2 separate regions of the Homo sapiens genome follow, and region 1 is linked to region 2. The links are contacts of gene promoters, found by promoter capture Hi-C in blood cells and fetal thymus (Javierre and others, 2016). All regions are on one chromosome and are shown on one strand. Each heading gives the region's core, a stretch centred on a gene start or on the middle of the fragment in contact. The rest is flanking DNA. Distances are from core to core; before and after follow the strand shown. Region 1 has its middle 2.3 kb from the start of NCOA6. Region 2 holds the start of MAP1LC3A (microtubule associated protein 1 light chain 3 alpha).

Evidence for each region. The method cuts DNA at HindIII sites, captures the fragments that hold promoters and counts their contacts. A CHiCAGO score of 5 or more calls a contact.
Region 1: a contact is called between a fragment that was not itself captured here and the fragment with the promoter of MAP1LC3A in region 2, in 1 of 17 cell types (neutrophils). The highest score is 5.2, in neutrophils.

Annotation. Positions count from the first base shown.
Region 1 is chr20:34,826,417-34,829,569 of GRCh38, forward strand. No RefSeq gene overlaps it. Among named protein-coding and RNA genes, the nearest start is that of NCOA6, 2.3 kb to the left of the region's middle. The HindIII fragment of the contact is 3,463 bases long and covers 1-3,124 here.
Region 2 is chr20:34,556,989-34,560,234 of GRCh38, forward strand. MAP1LC3A (microtubule associated protein 1 light chain 3 alpha) reads left to right here and starts at 1,730. Exons shown (of 4, transcript NM_032514.4): 1 at 1,730-1,920; 2 at 2,220-2,275; 3 at 2,359-2,465; 4 at 2,748-3,246. The coding sequence starts at 1,881. The coding sequence ends at 2,910. RefSeq lists silencers at 1,432-1,521, 1,862-1,911. The HindIII fragment of the contact is 14,836 bases long and covers 1-3,246 here.

The sequences.
Region 1 (3,153 bases), core at 143-2,642, 270 kb after region 2:
TGGGGTATCTAGCAACTCAAGCATTTATCCTTTGTGTTACAAATAACCCAATTATACTCTAGTTATTTTAAAATGTACAAGTAAATTTTGTGTGTGTGTGGTTTTTTTTTTGTTTTTTGTTTTATTTTTGTTTTTTTGAGACGGAGTCTCACTCCGTCGCCCAGGCTGGAGTGCAGTGGCGCGATCTCAGCTCACTGCAACTTCCGCCTCCCTGGTTCAAGGGATTCGCCTGCCTCAGCCTCCTGAGTAGCTGGTACTACAGGCGCATGCCACCACGCCCAGCTAATTTTTGTATATTTTTTAAGTAGAGATGGGGTTTCACCATATTGGCCGGGCTGGTCAGGAACTCCTGACCTCATGATCCGCCCGCCTCTGCCCCTCAAAGTGCTGGGATTATAGGCGTGAGCCACCGCGCCCGGCCAATTGTTTTTTACTGTAGTCACCTTCTTGTGCTAGCAAATACTAGGTCTTATTCTTTCTAACTATTCTTTTGTACCCGTTAATCATTCCCACTTCCCACCTACCTCCCCATTAATCTTACCAGCCTCTGGTAACCCTCCTTCTATTCTCTATCTCCATGAGTTCAATTGTTTTAATTTTTCGCTCCTGGCCCGGCATGGTGGCTCACGCCTGTAATCCTAGCACTTTGGGAGGCCAAGATGGGCGGATCACCTGAGGTCAGGAGTTCAAGACCAGCCTGGCCAACATGGTGAAACCCTGTCTCTACTAAAATACAAAAGCTAGGTGGGCATGATGGCGGGTGCCTGTAATCCCAGCTACTCAGGAGGCTGAGACGGGAGAATCTCTTGAACCTGGGAGATGGTGGTTGCGGTGAGCCTAGCTCGCGCCACTGCACTCCAGCCTAGGTGGCTGAGTGAGACTCCGTCTCAAAAAAAAATAAAAAATAGTTAATTTTTTGCTCCCACAAATAAGTGAGAACATGTGAAGTTTGTCTTTCTGTGCCCGGCTTCTTTCACATAACATAATGACCTCCAGTTCCATCCATATTGTTGCAAATGACACGATCTCACTCTTTTTTAATGGCGGAATAGTATTCCATTGTGTATATGTACATTTTATTTATCCATTCATCTGTTGATGGACACTTAGGTTGCTTCCAAATCTTGGCTGTTGTGAACAGGGATGCAGTAAACATGAGAGTGCAGATCTCTTCCATACACTGATTTCCTTTCTTTCCGGTGTATACCTAAGAATGGGATTGCTGGATTGTATGGCAGCTCTCTTTGGCTTTCGCTCTTGATAGCTGTCCTTGCCTCTCTGAACTTGAGCATCTTCATCTGTAAAATGGGAGTTGGGGTCTGTTCTGAGCATCCCAGGAGATAGAGGATGAGCAGGTGGATTGTAAACTAATTAAACAAATCAGTCCTACTGATCCCATAGAAGAAAGGGAGTCAGGAACCCTTTCATTCCATCAATATTTATTGAGTACACACAGTGTGCTTGGACTGGTGTAGTAGATACCCACCATCTTTTCACATTACCCTGACCGCCCTCTAATCTATTCTCCACCCTGCTGTCAGAGTAATGTTTCTAATGATCAGAAATATGATCATGTCACTACTCTACTTAAAAGTATCTGTTGATGGCCAGGTGCAGTGGCTCACACCTGTAATCCCAACACTTTGGGAGGCTGAGGCAGGTGGATTGTTTGAGCCCAGGAGTTCAAGACCGGGCTGAGCAACATGGCAAACGCTGTCTCAACAAAAAATACAAAAATGGCTGGGCTCAGTGGCTCATGCCTATAATTCCAGCACTTTGGGAGGTCGAGGTGGGTGGATCACGTCAGCTCAGAAGTTCGAGACTAGTCTGGGCAACATGGCAAAACCCCATCTCTACTGAAAATACAAAAATTAGCTGGGCATGGTGGTGCACACCTGTAGTCCCAGCTAATCGGGAGGCTGAGGCATGAGGCAAGAATCACTTGAGCTGGAAGGTGGAGGCTTCAGTGAGCCGAGATAACACCACTGCCCTCCTGCCTGGGTGGCAAAGGGAAACCGTGTCTCAAAAAGACAACAAAAGACAAAAACATAGCAGGCATGGTGCTGCACACCTGTGGCCCCAGCCACTTTGGAGGTTGAGGTGGGAGGATTGCCTGAGCCTGGGAGGTTGAGGCTGCAGTAAGCTAAGATCATATCATTGCACTCCAGCCTGGGCAATAGAGTGAGACCCTGTCTCAAAAAAAAAAAAAAATCTGATGGCTCTACATTGCTCTTAAGATAAAGGCCAAGCCGGGCGCGGTGGCTCACGCCTGTAATCCCAGCACTTTGGGAGGCCGAGGCGGGCAGATCACAAGATCAGGAGATCGGACCATCCTGGCTAACACGGTGAAACCCCGTCTCTACTGAAAATACAAAAAATTAGCCGGGCGTGGTGGCAGGCGCCTGTAGTCCCAGCTACTCGGGAGGCTGAGGCAGGAGAATGGTGTGAACCCAGGAGGCGGAGCTTGCAGTGAGCCGAGATCGCGCCACTGCACTCCAGGCTGGGCGACAGAGCGCGACTCCGTCTCTAAAAAAAAGATAAAGACCAAATAAATGTTGGCCTCCCCACATCTCTAGATTTATCTTAGGGCCCTCTTCCCCTTTCTCTGGGTTGCAACTACAGTGATATTTCTTACACATTGTTCTCCCTCCTTTCTGAGAACCCTTGCACATGCTGATCCCCCTGCCTGCAATGCTCTCCCCACTTAGATAACTCTCAGTCTTCAGATCCCAGTTCAAACGGGGCTACTCCAAGGATACCTTCCCTGACCCATTCCCACACAGGTTTTCTTAGCACGATATGCTTGTCCTTAGTAGAATACACTGAGTCATTATTACCTGTCTTTGCCACTAGACTATGGACACCATAAGGAAGAAAACCTTATCCATCTTGTTTAACATTGTTTTCTCAGCATATAGCACAGCACCTGGCACAGAGTAGGTGCTCAGTAAGTATTTGTTGCGTTTGTGAATCCTAAGCACAATACTAGGTATTGGGCCCAAGAGGGCAGACAGGAGCAAAGAGAACCACAGGCAACCGCAACAGGGGGGCACCTTAGACCTTTGAGCCTATGAAATTAACACCAAATAAATTTAAAATATCCTGGAAAAAAAAACTTTTCTGAAGCTTTTTATTTTAACTTTTAAAAACTGA
Region 2 (3,246 bases), core at 480-2,979:
TTGATCCTCTTATCCCCAGTGTCTTCTGCCTGAAGGCCTATTTTGTCTGAGTTTTCTATAGGTACATCTTTTGGTTAGTTTTTCTCTAGTACACCTTTTCCCATCGTTTTACTTTTTGGTGCCCTTAGGTTTTAAATTTCCTCTTGTAAATAGCATAGAGCTGCATCTTATTTTTTCTTGGCCAATCTGGTCATCTGTGTTTTAAGAGGTGAATGTAAACCACATTTTCTACCTCTGGTTTTGTACTATATATTTACCATCCCTTTTACTTTGCTTCCTTTTTCTCCCTTTCTGCCTTCCATTATAGTTTTAATACCCATCACTACCCTTTTCTCTGCATTGGCAGTTATAGTTCCGTTTGTATTCTTTTGGTGATCCTCTTAAATATCTGAAATACACACCTGACTTTACAAAGCCAGACAATGCTCAGTCTCTTTAACCCCCTCTCAAATTGCCCTCTCAGTCTTCCATGTTCTTGTGTCTCATGCATCTTGTTTCTGTGGCCCACAAATTAATCATTATTATTCATATTGCATATTAAATGCTTGTTTAGATTCACATGTTTACCAATTTGCTCACCATTTTTCCATCTAATTTCTTCCTTTTGGGTTCCATGTCCTTGTTACTAAACTACATTCTTTAAAAATTATTTCGGCGGCCAGGCGTGGTGGCTCACACCTGTAATCCCAGCACTTTGGGAGGCCGAGGCGAGTGGATCACGAGGTCAGGAGATCGAGACCATCCTGGCCAACATGGTGAAACTCCATCTCTACTAAAAATACAATAATTAGCTGGGGGTGGTGGCAGGCGCCTGTAATCCCAGCTACTGAGGAGGCTGACTGAGGCAGGAGAATCGCTTGAACCCGGGAGGCAGAGGTTGCAGTGAGCTGAGATCGCACCACTGCACCCCAGCCTGGCGACAGAACGAGACTTCGTCCCCCTCCCCCCTCCCCCAAAAAAATGTTGATCTTCAGTCTGCGCATTCTGCTCTGGATTTTAAGCATCATTTCTGGCAGCTCTTTTTCAGGAACTGTCTCTGCAGGTCTTTCAGTGTTCGCCTCTGGAGCTCTGCTCGGGCCCGCGAGTTCTCCTGGCGTTGCCATCTGTGCCCTTTTCCTTATTCCCCATCACCTGTCTCTCTGGTGAGCTGCTTCCGATCAGCCTCCAGGTCCACGATTTCTCTTCTGTTGTCCTTTTCTGCCTTCTCACCTCATCCTCTGAGACCTGAATTTCGATGGCTCTACTTTTCAATTATATTATTCTTTTTCAAACCTGGGCGTTCATTTCTAGCATCCTGTTCTATCCTGTGTCTGACTGTGCCTCCCGCACCTTCTCCCTTCTCTCGCCCTAAGCCCCGTGAAGGCGCCGGGCCTTTGGCTCCGGCTGTTTCCCACGGCGCCCAGAACCGCGTCAGTCCTGACACAGACTCGGTGAGGGCGGGAAGTGGTGCCGTGGGGCTGCAGCCTGGCCCGCCCGCTCCATCGGCCTAGGGCGGCCCCACCGCCCTCCGGGCCTTACCTTGAGTTCGGGCTGCGGGAGAAGCTCCCGCGCTGCCCATGACGTCACGGGACTGTGACGCGCCCAGAAGCCCCGCCCCTCGCGTCCCGGTCCGCGGACCCAGGCTCTCTGCGCCGTGACGTCACGGGTCCGGGCGGGCGGGTTGTGCGTCGGCCCAATGGGAGCGGCGCACTGGCCTCCCCTTTAAGGAATGTTGTGACCTGACGTCACCGGGCGAGTTACCTCCCGCAGCCGCAGCCGCCGTGCTCAGCGCGAGCCCCGGAGCCCTTGAGCGCGAGGCGCGGAGCCCCCGGAGCCCCCAAACCGCAGACACATCCCCGCGCCCCAGAGCCCCGGCCTGCGCGCCCAGCCGGGCCCGCGCGATGCCCTCAGACCGGCCTTTCAAGCAGCGGCGGAGCTTCGGTGAGGCCCGGCAGGCGAGCTGCGAGCTCTGGGGCAGGGGTGCCGGCCGACCCCGACTGCCGCAGGTGACGTCAGCCCCGTGACGTCAGGCTCTGGCTGGACCCTCGGGCTGGGACCAGCTCCGGCCTGGGCGGGGGCTGCCCGCTTCCCCACCGCGATAGGTGCCAGGGGCTGTGGGGCCTGATGGCCCCGGGGGTGGGGGCTGGAGCTGGGGCGTGGCCGGGGGCCGCCCCTCCGGGACAGGCGGGGCGGACCTGGGCCGGCCCGACCCGGCCTCACGGTCTGGCCGCTGTCCGCAGCCGACCGCTGTAAGGAGGTACAGCAGATCCGCGACCAGCACCCCAGCAAAATCCCGGTGAGTCCCGCACCCCCAGCCCTGCCCCGCCCCCGCCTCGCGCGTTCCCGACACGACCCCCTGCCCGCCCGCCCTGCTCCCAGGTGATCATCGAGCGCTACAAGGGTGAGAAGCAGCTGCCCGTCCTGGACAAGACCAAGTTTTTGGTCCCGGACCATGTCAACATGAGCGAGTTGGTCAAGATCATCCGGTGCGTGGGCAGCCGCCGCCAGGAGGTGGCTAGGGTCGGGAGGGGAGCCGGGTTCCCGCCGAGAAGGGGTGGGAGTGGGGTCAGGGGTGATGGGACCGGGCGGTGGGCCCCTGTTCTGGGGTGGCTGGAAAGGTCAAGGTCGGGGCTGCAGTCGGTGTTGGGTCAGAGGTGACAGCTGGGGTGAGAATGGGTGTGAAAGGCTGGGAATCATTCTGGGGGTCAGGGCTATGTCCGTCCCGCAGCCAAGCCCCTCACAGCTGCATACTCTCCCGCCGGCTGCAGGCGCCGCCTGCAGCTGAACCCCACGCAGGCCTTCTTCCTGCTGGTGAACCAGCACAGCATGGTGAGTGTGTCCACGCCCATCGCGGACATCTACGAGCAGGAGAAAGACGAGGACGGCTTCCTCTATATGGTCTACGCCTCCCAGGAAACCTTCGGCTTCTGAGCCAGCAGTAGGGGGGCTCGGCCTGGGAGTCGGGCGGCCCCGGTCAGGCCCTGCCCAGAGAGCTCCTGGTTCCTGAACTGAGCTGCCTCTACCGTGGTGGGCTGGGCAGGCATGTGCCCCCCTAGTCAGAGGGCACCAACCCACCTACTCTGCCCCTGGGTGGATCCTGGGCCGGTCGTGTTAGGGTTGTCCCTCTGGGTGCTGGCTGGTGGGATGGGGGAGGGTGGGGAGCAGCTCCCAGCACCCCTGCTGTGTGGTTCATCTTTTTTTTAGGCCCCTGCCTGTCTGCCCATCTGCCCCTCACCCACCCGAGGCTCTGCCCACCGCCTGGACCTG